Linked DNA regions of Homo sapiens: all the other regions are linked to region 1. The links are contacts of gene promoters, found by promoter capture Hi-C in blood cells and fetal thymus (Javierre and others, 2016). All regions are on one chromosome and are shown on one strand. Each heading gives the region's core, a stretch centred on a gene start or on the middle of the fragment in contact. The rest is flanking DNA. Distances are from core to core; before and after follow the strand shown. Region 1 holds the start of FLRT3 (fibronectin leucine rich transmembrane protein 3). Region 2 has its middle 19 kb from the start of OTOR. Region 3 overlaps KIF16B (kinesin family member 16B). Region 4 overlaps KIF16B (kinesin family member 16B).

The links. Contacts are between HindIII fragments. The CHiCAGO score rates a contact against its expected background, and 5 or more counts as called.
Region 2: a contact is called between a fragment that was not itself captured here and the fragment with the promoter of FLRT3 in region 1, in 2 of 17 cell types (naive B cells and total B cells). The highest score is 9.8, in naive B cells.
Region 3: a fragment that was not itself captured here is called in contact with the fragment with the promoter of FLRT3 in region 1 in 1 of 17 cell types (naive B cells); the score reaches 12.2 in naive B cells.
Region 4: a fragment that was not itself captured here is called in contact with the fragment with the promoter of FLRT3 in region 1 in 1 of 17 cell types (total B cells); the score reaches 5.3 in total B cells.

The regions. Positions count from the first base shown.
Region 1 is chr20:14,335,686-14,338,976 of GRCh38, reverse strand. It overlaps FLRT3 (fibronectin leucine rich transmembrane protein 3), which reads left to right and starts at 1,365. Exons shown (of 3, transcript NM_198391.3): 1 at 1,365-1,573. The region is part of intron 3 of MACROD2 (mono-ADP ribosylhydrolase 2); the gene reads right to left. The HindIII fragment of the contact is 777 bases long and covers 1,337-2,113 here.
Region 2 is chr20:16,766,364-16,769,300 of GRCh38, reverse strand. No RefSeq gene overlaps it. Among named protein-coding and RNA genes, the nearest start is that of OTOR, 19 kb to the right of the region's middle. The HindIII fragment of the contact is 2,356 bases long and covers 117-2,472 here.
Region 3 is chr20:16,480,444-16,483,455 of GRCh38, reverse strand. The region is part of intron 12 of KIF16B (kinesin family member 16B); the gene reads left to right. Among named protein-coding and RNA genes, the nearest start is that of KIF16B, 91 kb to the left of the region's middle. The HindIII fragment of the contact is 3,982 bases long and covers 1-3,012 here.
Region 4 is chr20:16,504,427-16,507,493 of GRCh38, reverse strand. It overlaps KIF16B (kinesin family member 16B), which reads left to right. Exons shown (of 26, transcript NM_024704.5): 8 at 1,304-1,472; 9 at 1,641-1,772; 10 at 2,947-3,067. Among named protein-coding and RNA genes, the nearest start is that of KIF16B, 67 kb to the left of the region's middle. The HindIII fragment of the contact is 1,563 bases long and covers 941-2,503 here.

The DNA.
Region 1 (3,291 bases), core at 116-2,615:
TAAAGATATTAGTTTAAGACAACGGTCCTCCAGGTAAATATAAAAGCTAAGTTCTTACCACCAACATGAACAAGTGAAATACACTTATTTGATGGAAAACTTACGGGCACAAAGCAATTGTTGACCAAATAGCAGAAACCAGTCTACAAAAATCATAATTAAAAATACAAGTATAATTCTGTTAATTAGGCATAGAAATTTATAATCTCCACGTCTTACAATTGTCCAGTGTTTATTCATGTACCTAAATTAAACTAAAATAATTTCAATCCAGGCAAACCACCCTGAAAGATTTTTTTCTTAAGATGTTTATATCTAAACCCATGCTCAGATCAGCAAAAACATTTAGAAAGGAAAATATTCTATTAAATTTTTTAAAAACATTTTATTGGGGGATCGTTAAATATAAATAATCCATTTTAAATAATATAAACACGTAGCAGAAGTACATAAAACATACTTTCATTTTCTAAAACATAGAGAACAGTAACTTCTTCGCCTCCAAAAGAACAGACCATTTAATACCATTTAAAAAAATCTTTTGGCATTCCTATTGCCCTTCCCATAACTAAATGAATCAGTGACACGTGTATATATATACATATATTGGAGATGGAGTTTCGTTCTTGTTGCCCAGGCTGGAGTGCAATGGTGCAATCTTGGCTCACTGCAACCTCTGCCTCCCGGGTTCAAGTGATTCTCCTGCCTCAGCCTCCCAAACAGCTGGGATTACGGGCGCCCAGCTAATTTTTTCTACATGTTGGTCAGGCTGGTCTCGAACTCCTGACCTCAGGTGATCCTCCCACCTCGGCCTCCCAAAGTGCCGGAATTAGAGGCGTGAGCCACCACACCCAGCCCTGATGTATATATTTGAATCTGCTGTTTATTCATATGTTGAATAAACATTCACAGTTGGGATTACTGGCATACATCTTCCACAATTATAACATTATTTTAGCTAGTGAATAATAAAACTAATTTGATTTTGGTTAACTTCTTTTCAATACAGATGGTTTAAAAATAAGACAAAGCCTGTCTTTTTCTATTGTGATCTTAAAAATATCTTTCTAACATGCTTTTTAAAAAAAATACATAAGTATGCTACCACTGCCTTGTAGTAAACTTTAGAAAATGTTGAGATTCCAAAGGGCTGCCTACAAACCAAATGGCATCCTAGCTTTGGCAGGCTGATGCTTCATTTTGGCTGCTCTCGCCCCCTCTAGCGTTTGCAAAGCTCATCTGTCTGATTATCCAGTTACCTCACTGAACAAGATCTTGGCTAAGTCCTGCCCATCTATGACATCACCCCCTTCTTCAGCCACTGCGAGGTGAAGCTTTAAACTTCAGACTTGGAGGTGGGCTGTGTGCAGTAAACTGGAATGCTCTCCCTCGCTCACTCCTCAGTGTAGGAGTGATCTGAAGCAGGACAAGCTCAGCCTGCAGCTGCCGTGGGCTTTGTGTGGACTGGACGCAGAGCTTGGGAGACGGGGGAGGGCTATTACTCCAATTCACTGTCAATGGAATTACAGCTATAGCGGCAGTGTATATAGGATTGCTTTTTCTCGTCTTCCTGGTAAGTGTTTTCCATGTTTTTTCTTATGATTGTCCCAGAAAGTTTGCTTGGTTTTACTCTCTAGAAAGAAACGACTTGATACTATGAGAAATCCAAATAGGAACGTTTGCTCTGTCACCACAACAAGCAATATATGTGCGTGCAAGCCAGCAATGAAAAATTTCACTATCATGGCTGAATGTAAGAAGTTTCTTAGAACCTTCTTTCATTTATAAAAGATAGTAAGTGGCTATTTTCTGTCTTGAGTAATTGCTATGTGAAAAGAGCCTTATGGAAAACAGCAAGTTGGAAAGTTCAATGTTAAATATTAAAGAATACAAGGAGATTCTTCACAGATAGGAAAGCAACTTGGTGTGTACTGTACGTGTGGGATGATCACCAATTGCTGTTTTTACAACTGTGAAAGAAAATCAATAATCCCTCAGCCCATGAGTACGCAGTACATGAAAAGCATACATCTTGCTCACAGCTAGCCGAGCTACTCCTGGAGACTTATGTGCCTCTGTAAAGGATTAACAGCTACACCTAGATTTTAAAGCTTGCACTGCTATCGTGCCTGAGCTGCTTCAAGCATTTCAGGCTTGCAAATCTCAACTAGTAAATTGAACTCAGAGGAGGGGGAGACACTCTTCCAAACCATATTCCCTCTTCAATAGAACACCAAAATCCATTGCTTAGGCAAGTGAAGTATGTGACTAGCATAGTAAATGGCTAAGTCTACTCAGAAAAACTAACAAAGCTCACCCTGGAAGCTATGCCTGATGTATGCAGTGAGTTTGGGGTAGCAGGAAAGAAAAATAAATGAGTAGAGCCCTTATCAAGTGGGTTTTGCAGAGGATCCATTCTTTGCAACTTATAATAGGAAAATCTTATATTGGAAGAAATGCATTTATACTACAAAGCTTGAAAAAGTAGTTAAATGTATCTTCTCAAAAAATTTTGTTCACTGAATTAGGTCTGAAACAAAATGGTTGCATATAGGTAAAGAGTGCAACAGGCCCATCCATGTCTTCTCAACATCTGGGGGGTTTGTTTTTATTATTTTATTTAGAATTTAAAAGAAAAAAAATTGATTTTTTTTTCAATTTTTAGTCCAAAATCTCTAATGGTTTTAATAATAAGGCTATTTTAAACATTCTTAATAAATCTGTCTATTAATAAATCTGTCTAAAATGCTCATCTATGTTATTTTATTATCCAGAAACAACATAAATAAAGCCACTAGAAAAGTCCTTCAGCTGTAGCAATGCCTTTCATTTATCTCTGACTGCATAAAAATATCCTGACCAGCCTAAACATAAAGAATAAATTTGCTTATATTCAGGGAGAATCACTTATACCTGACCCAAAGTGACAGATGACTAATATTCATCTCTTCCGAAATGAGTAAAGAAAAATTAATCCTTTAAAAGTGCCACAATCAATAATATCAACATTACCAACTACTACAAATATTAATGATAATATGCCAGGTTTTACCATGGGAAAATTAAATCAGAGATATGCCCCTTAGTTTGGACACATATATATACACACAGACAAACGCACATCTATTTATTACCCTGAAATAAAAACAGAGTTACAAAAACGCATAGATTTACTAAGAAAACTAAAATTTGATTTTTTGAAGAGCACAACCAAAACACATCAAGTCCAAGGATCAGCAAAATATTAGTGAATGAATAAACATAATGAATTCATTAATATTGCGGTTCTGT
Region 2 (2,937 bases), core at 45-2,544, 2.4 Mb before region 1:
TCTTCCATGAGTGGAAGCCTGAGGCCCTCAGCAGATGCAGCTGCCCAATCTTGAACTTCCCAGCCTACAGAATCATAAACTGAATAAATCTCTTATCTTTATAAATTGCCCAAGCTTAAGTATTCTATTACAGTAACACAAAACAGACTATTACAATCTATCAGGCATTTTTCTCATTACTTTACATATGTTTCCTTACTTAGCACCCACAACAAGATTACTATTATCATCATTATATATATTTTCTTTACAAATGAAGAAACTGAGACACAGCAAGATTAAGCTGCCATCCAAAGATCGTACAGCTGACAAGTGGCTGAGCCAGGATTTGAACCCTAGAAATCTGGCTCTAGGGCTCTAAAGTTCAAAATCTTAACTGCTATACTAAGAAAGTTGAGACAACAGGCCATATTCTAGCACTGTTGACTAAGGGAAACAAAAGAGTCACCACAATTTATAGAGTAACAGCACAGGGAAGCAGATCAGAGTTTCATAGTGACATCTGGCTGCAAGAAAAGCTGGGAAACATAATTGTGTTAGTTGGGGTTTCTTCAAAAGCAGACCCTGAAATAAGGACTTGGGCACAAGTACTTTACTTAGGAGATACTTCCAAAATATAGAAGTGACTGAGTAATAAAAGTGAGTCAAGGGAAGAAGAAAAGCCAGTAGAGGGAGTGTCATTGAGCTTCTTGCTGCTCTAGGCATCTGGGGTTCAATCCCACAGGAGGCCTTTGGGGAACCTTGTAGAACACAGCTCAGAATTAGTCCATCTAAGGAAGAGGAGGTGGCGGCCTCTATCCACCCACTACCATCCCCCATTGGCCGAGGGCAGTTGTCCCTACAGGTCCAGGTTATGCCCACACTTGTCCTTCCACAGCTTCAGAGAAGAAAGAATAGAAAGACTCCATGTGTGCCTGATGCCTGAACTTGTCGTCCAGGGCTGCCATGAGGTTACAGGGACTGCAGGGCAGCAGCATGAAGCATCACAAGCACCTGAAATAGGAATCTTGATTCTGAGTGGTCTGTGCATTGCTAAAATTCAGGAACTTACTACTACTAAAGGATGAAGGAGAAAACAAATTTGGGGATTCAATTGGTGGTCTCTGTCAAATACCCTTTTACTTTTATCTTTAATTTTTTTCTCAAAAAAGCCATGCCCAGGGACCTTAAAACCAGTATCATTTAAAGGTTGGGGCCAGAACTGCCTTTATATTTCTGCCAATCATCTCCACAAGGAAAGACCTCATGCCAGATCTAGATAGAGGCTTTATTAAGCCAGAGCTTTGCCTTTAATGTTTGTTGGATCAGCTAATGTTCCTGGTACACTCTATGTCTCTCCAGGTTCTTTCTCTGTCTTAAGCGATATCTCAGCAACTCTCATAAGCATTACACTCAGATATAGGGAAGAGGAGTTAGCTGTTGCTGCATGAAAAACCACTCCTAAACTTAGTGGTTTAAAGCATGTATTTTCCCTATGAATCTGAAAAAGCAGTTTTGTCAATGGGGACAGCTCATCTCAGCTCCATGTGGCATGCTCAAAGACTGGGGCAGGGATCTTCTGCAGTCTCACTCATATGGCTGCTGCAGATGGTATAGATAATGGGTGGCCAATGTGAGCTGTCATCTAGGACCTCAGATAAGGCCTGTGGCCAGAACAGCCTATAGTGGCCTTTCCATGTGGTGGGTGGCAGGATCCAAGGTCAAGAGTTCCAAGAGGGCTACTGAAAGTTGTATGGCTCCGAGGACTTTTATTCTTAGAAGTCACACAGTATCCTGTTCACCTAGTCACAGGCCCACCCAGTGCCAAGAAAAGGAACATGGGTGATGGAACATGCTGATAGGGCCATATTTGGAAAATTCAATGTGTCACAGAAGGCATGAGATTTAGACAGGCTATTCCTACCAAATACCTGTGTATGTGTGCGTTCATAAGCATTTTAACTGTGTGTCTCCTTTAATCACTTATACCCATGCCTAATGTCTGACCATGGAAAAAGCCCTTTATCTCTCCATATTGCAGGCTGTGGGACACCTTGGGAGGTTTCAGGCTTTATTTAATACTTTTAATAAAATCTGCAGAGCTCTGAGTGTTATAAATCATGTGCCAAAAGTTTCGGCTTTGTGCTTAATGGCAAAGCTAAAACAAAATGACTTCCTCTTGAGTTTCAGCAATTTGTTAACTTAGAAATATTACCATTCAGCAGTTTCCAAACCTTTCTCTCTAATAACCGTTTTATCCTGTTAGTATACTTTATGGATCTCTTAGCCTTTTGTTTCTCAATGAAGAAATCCAAATTATCCTTCTCTGATTACCCTAAGTATTTACTTTGTTCTGGAGTCTGCTTGTTATAGTTCTCTTCTCTGATCAAGGCAGCTTGCTCAGTCTCTTTCCTTTAGATCATACACCCAAGTCGTTACACACATCAACATAGCATAGATCCACACATAGCACAGTCCTGGCCGTAACAAGCTTAACAGTTAAGAATTCATTTGGCTGCAAGTAATCAAACTCTTAACCCGTAGAGACACATCTGTTTCACATAATACACTGATGGTTCCAGCTGCCAGTGGTGATAGACTGGCTTATGACTTACCAACTCTCTCAATAAGAGAAAACAGAAAAGCTGCACAAAATATATGAATATGTTTGTGCTTTCAGAGAGCTACCAAAGCAGTGAGGTCGTGAAGAACCAGATCCCAGAGAGAAGGAAGCACAGTCTCACTGAATTAGTACAACAGAGAGAGAGCAGGCACCAGCCCATTAGAACAGAGCAGAGTCCTGAAGGACAGATGCTCTTCCGGGCATTCACCCTCTAACTGTTTGAGGTCCTTGTGATAACAGGGGAGGGACTTATGAGGCAGGTGTGGCAGTGAAGGAACACTCTTGGGGGCTTCAGGGAAATAACTATTTACCAACTAGTAAAGAAGTGTTTCAAA
Region 3 (3,012 bases), core at 264-2,763, 2.1 Mb before region 1:
AATTATGTATATGGAAACTTTTTAAGGTATGTAGTTTTATACAGATACAAGCTGGTGTTACTTAGACGTATTTTATCAGGTAGCTACAATTTTCTGTTTGTTTATTTACATTGAATAACAGAAAACCCAATTCCAAACTGGATTATATGGTACAGGGGTTTATTAGCTCACAGAAGAGTGATGGTGGGATGGAGTTTAGGCATGGTTTGATCAGGGCTCTGGCTCACCAGGATTCTCCTTGGTTCTACTTTTTGGTGTACTGACTTACTCCTCAGGCTGTCTACCCTCAGAATGCAAAGGGAGAGCAGCAATTACAGATTCATATCTCCCTAACGCATTACCCAAATTCAAGGAGTGTGCATTCCTGAGTTCCCAACAACTTTTTGAGCTCTCCATTGAATGGTGCATTTCTGAACCAGTCTCTGGGGCCAAGGAGACACTGTATGCTGACTGGCTTAGGTCTAGGTTATCTAAACCAATCAGTGTGATAAGGGATAGGTTACCCTGATTGATTGAGATGAATCAAGGGCCACCTCTGGAGCCCTTTGGAGTGAGGTCAAGCTCATTCACCACAGCTTCTGTGAGCTGGGGTTGGGGGAGCAGGTGAATCAGGGTGACACCATTCACATTTCCTACCATAAATATAGAACTTGGACACTTACTATAGTGTCATATATATTCAAGGCAAACAGGAGATGCACATGAGTTGAGGCATTCTTTTACTTCTTAAGAGAAAATATTTATGACTCAGGAATCCTGTATTGAGGTGAAAAATTACATAAAAGCAGCTGAATATCTGTACTGTGGTGTGAACATTCCATTACAGGAGAGCCCTCTGTTTTCTGGTGTTAGAACTGAAGAATGGCACACAACAAATTCTGTGTATTTAAAGTCATTTTCCTTTTCTCCTTTAGATTGATTACATGATTTAAAATGAGCTCCAAATGCGGGTGTGTTCTCTTCAGTCTTTCATAGGTAGTTTTGAATTTGGCTCAATTTCTCATTGACCTCTTTAGCTTGCTGTTTTCCATCCCAGCCTACCTAGCAACAGTTACTAGGAGCGGCAGGTTGGACTTGCCCTCCGTTTGTATCACAACAGCCAGTTTTCAGAGATTACTTTTTCCTTAGCATCCTGGTTGATTTTGCCTTTGCATTATTTAAGGATGACAGCAGTTTCTCTTAACTCCAGGCAGCAGAGCTCCAAGCAGAAGTGGTGGTATTAAGAAGTTTGTATCTGTAAGGATCAGATTATGCTAATCAGCATAATTAGCAAATGGGCATCTACTGACAAAAGAATAAGGGCCTAAGTTGCATGTGGATGTCTATTACCAGGATATTCTGATATTTCCAAGGAGGAAGATGACTATACACTTCTCACATCTTATCTCGTACTTTACATGTCACCTTTGTTATTCTGGATCCAGCATTGTCATCTTTCTGACCATGGTCACAGGTCACTTTCTGTTCCCCAGAACCTCACTGTAAGATGCAGACAGTAATCGTACCTATCATACAAAGTGAGAAACGAGGACAGGCAAAGTGCTGACAGTGGTGTCTAGCACACAGTCAGCATTACAGTAATGTCATCCATTTTTTCCTTATTAATTTTGTTTACTCTGAACCTGTCCTCTTTGATGTGAAACTTTTCCAGCTAAAACCAGCCTTCCTAAGTTGTCTTTGTCAAATGGATGAGAGGAGTTGGTTCCAAATAGCTCTGAATTCTCCCTGAAAGAATTTAGCCACACAGACATCACAAAAGATGGTCATTTTCCTCTAGGTCCAGTACATTATACATTTAAGCCTTTTTTGTTCTCGTAATTAGAGTGAAAGTGTGCTGGCATTCCCAGCAGATTTGATGGAAGTCAAGCAACAGAATTTGACGTGACACTTCTTTAGGTTGCTAAGTCCTATTTCTCATCCAAAACCACATATAGCAGTTATTCTCCACCTCAGAAGTTGACTTTTGGACAGGTGTGGTAGCTCACGCCTTTAATCCCAGCACTTTGGGAGGCTGAGGTAGGAGGATTGCTTGAGGCCAGGAGTTTGAGACCAGCCTGGGCAACATAGAGAGACCCTGTCTCTACAGAAAAAAAATTAACCAGACAGGTGGCATACGCCTGTAGTCCCAGCTACTTGGGAGGCTGAGGCAGGAGGACTGCTTGAGCCTGGAAGGTTGAGACTGCAGCGAGCTGTGATTGCTCACTGTACTCCAGCCAGGGCGACAGAGTGAGAACCTGTCTTGAAACCACTTCCATACAGAAGTGGTTTCCACTCAGAATCACTGGGGATCTTTTTAAAAAGACAGTTTTCTCAGCCTACCGCAGACACGTGAAAGGAGAATGAATAGGAGTGATACCCCCAAATCTCTATTTTTGACGAAAGTGTCCTGAGCCTCAGAAGAGTTGGAAAGCACAGCCCTAAAGCATGTGGAAGATCATCCCTTCAAACACATCTCTCCATGTTTATTGCATGGTTGTAGGTTCATAGAATCAAATGGTTCATATAACTTGGAATGTTTTGCAGCCCCCAAGTTGTACACTCATACAAGCATTTGGAGACACTGGGTGATGCCATTTGAAAAGAAATTTTAACTGAATAGATTCATTTTGTTAAATGCAGTTATTTGTTCACAGAATTAAAAAAAAACTATTTGAATTGGTTTTTGATTGAGATTTAACATACACAAAGTGTGAAGAGATGGTATATGCAGCTCATGAATTTTTACTTCTGTGTACCCCCATCTAACCCACACCCAGATTAAGATGTGTAGACATTGCCAGCTTCCTAGCTCTTTCCTCCTCTCTGCGGTTGTTCTGTGCATTGTGTCACCTCTTCACTGCTTATCTCATTTGAATGAAATACACAAAAGCCTTGTCCTTTTTTGAGTTCCTACTCATTCTGAGTTTTCACTTAATTTATTCTTTTGACATATCTTGAGTATTTTATCATTATTTAAGTCTTGTTTACTGAGGTGACCTGGATTTTGCCCTTGGACCTATCACTTACTAGTTG
Region 4 (3,067 bases), core at 473-2,972, 2.2 Mb before region 1:
ATTCATTATGATCAAGAGGTGGAGAGCATCTTGAACATCTGTGGAAATTATTGAGGGTAAATATTTGAACACTGAGGCCAGTAGAATAGATGAATGCAAAAATGTAGGGTCCTGTCAGGGTCTAAGTATATGCTAGGAGCTTGGGGATGTCCTTATCTGGGTTAACAGTTGGACACATCAGATACAAAGAGGCAGCATTTTATTAATGAGGGAGATCAAAGAGCACAAAAATGAGTTTTCTAAGGCCAGTCAGAACAACTTGCATTAAATTCTCCACATCTTAATCTTCTGTTAGACCTTTCCTTTAGATTTACTCAAGTTGATTGGTTTTTCTCCTGCTTTCTGGTTAGTGCTTGATTAGCATATTACCATCTCTAATTTTTTTTTTTTTTTTGAGACATGATTTCACTCTGTTGCCCAGGCTGGAGTGCAGTGGTGTGATCACGGCTCACTGCAGTCTCAACCTCTGGGCTCAAGTGATCTCCCACCTCAGCCTTCCAGGGAGCTGGGACTGCAGTGCACAACACCACGCCCAGCTAATTTTTTTTTTTTTAAGTTTTTTCTAGAGATGGTGTCTCACTATGATGCCCAGGCTGGTCTTGAACTCCTGGGCTCAAGCGATCCTCCCACCTTGGCCTCCCAAAGTGCTGGGATCACAGGCATAAGCTGCTGGGTCTGGCCACCATCTCTCATTTCTAAGAGGTTTAAATTTCTATAAAAATATAGTAATCTGGCGGGGGGCGCATTTTGGTTCAAAATGTAACACATAGATCAGAAGTATTTGTGAATATAAAATTTTGGTAGAATTCAGAAGCGAGGAATATAGTATTTAAGATTTTACATTAAAAGAAATAATTTGTGCAACAAGATGTTTTAACATCCGATAATGGTTGAATGCTCTTTTCCGTACTTGTCTATATTGATCATATTTTGGAAAGCTTTTGTTCTTGGAAGGCTGGGATTCTAGATGAGAATAAAAATTATTATTTGCTTACTTACATTTCTCTGCTGAGTGCCACTCAGTGCCTAGTTTTCTGTTCTGCCACAGCCTGATTCAGCAGGGCTTGGTTGAGAATGAAATGCTTCTTTAGAAAGTTTAAGAATCATATACAGTAACTTCTTTTGCATTGGATTAAATTTGAGAAGTTTCTGTAATCAGTAGGAAGGCCAGTAAAACAATAAAATTGAAAAATATCTACCCTGAGAGATCTCAGTGAGGAGCAGAAAATAGTTAGAATTCATATCATCAACAACATCAGGGCCCTTTGCACCTCTTCAATTTTACTTTTTTATTTTACCACAGGCTAAATTTGATTCTGAAATGCCATGTGAAACCGTCAGTAAGATCCACTTGGTTGATCTTGCCGGAAGTGAGCGTGCAGATGCCACCGGAGCCACCGGGGTTAGGCTAAAGGAAGGGGGAAATATTAACAAGTCCCTCGTGACTCTGGGGAACGTCATTTCTGCCTTAGGTATGCTTACGCCTGGCTCCTGCCTCCTCTGTTTCCTCCTCTTTTTCCTCATGTGTAATATTTGGGTTGCAAACTGAGGTAATTTCTTCAAGGTTTTATGAAGCAAAAGTAGAGGAAAAAAAATTTTACTAATTGTCCTTTCTCCCCTTTGTTTCTTCCTTTTCATAGCTGATTTATCTCAGGATGCTGCAAATACTCTTGCAAAGAAGAAGCAAGTTTTCGTGCCTTACAGGGATTCTGTGTTGACTTGGTTGTTAAAAGATAGCCTTGGAGGAAACTCTAAAACTATCATGATTGCCAGTAAGAGTTTTAAGTTACTTTTCTGAGCATACAATATTTTCTGTGAATTAACTGTAAATATTTAAGTTTAAAGTGTCTTATTAGGAAATAGCACCTTTTACATCTTAAAAAAGTAATGGTTTTTCTATCTTGAGGAAAATCACCTCCTATGATCCTGCTATGATCCAGTCTATAGTATCATCATTAACTGTTATACCACCTTGCCATATTTTGGAAGCTGTGATAACATGCACGAAGACTTTTCAGCTTTTCTTTGCTTAAAGTGCAAGGTAGAAATTTACCTCATAGGAGAAAAATCATAGGAACACAAGGTCAAAATAACCCAACTTTGTTTTTTTATTTAAGGCAGTAAATGCGGAATTTAAAAGTAAGAATTGGGAGGGGAAAAAAAAACCCAATGCATAAAACAAATAATGGTAACAGCAGTATACTTTATGTCAGTATTTCAGCCAATAATTGAAAGAAGCAGAATAGAGAAAAAAACGTAGAAAGGGGAGATAATTGTTTGGGAGAAGTCAGGACTTGTTTCCCTTCTGACTCTACTTTCCCCTCCCTCTTCCTCTCTTTCCTCTTCCCTTCCCCTCTCTTCATGCCCTTCCCATGCTTCATGCCATGTGCTAACTATGGAGCCACGGGATTTACCCTGGTTTGTACACCCACATGCATTTGTATAGTCACCTAATCCTTAAAGTTGAGTGGTAGTGGTGGAGGTGGGTAAGATTAACCAAGCTTTAAGAAGAGAATGGATAGATTTGTGACCCTTTTCAAAACTTATCATATTCTGTTTTTTTTTCCAGACAGTAGACTTTGCCAGAACTTTTAAAAGTATTTGAATTCCTACTTAATGTTGAGATGACAAATAGTCTTTAAACCTTCTTCTTACGTTTTCAGCAGGGAAAACTACCTAACTATAGGGGAATGTCTCATATCTCATTTTAGACTTGGTTAGGTGGTTGATTCTAGATTTGAGAAGAGCAAAATGACACTTAATTTTGTATTGTGAACACTCTTTCCTAGAAATGTTAGATAATTTTTCATATTCATTACTGTGGCAATGAATATTTAGTCTCTCCAATGACCTGGGGTTAATCTGACTTTTAAATTACAAACCAACTTTGTGTTAAATGGAACATGGAGTGCTGGATAAATTATTTTTTGAATACATTCTTCACAGCCATTTCACCTGCTGATGTCAATTATGGAGAAACCCTAAGTACTCTTCGCTATGCAAATAGAGCCAAAAACATCATCAACAAGCCTACCATTAATGAGGATGCCAACGTCAAACTTATCCG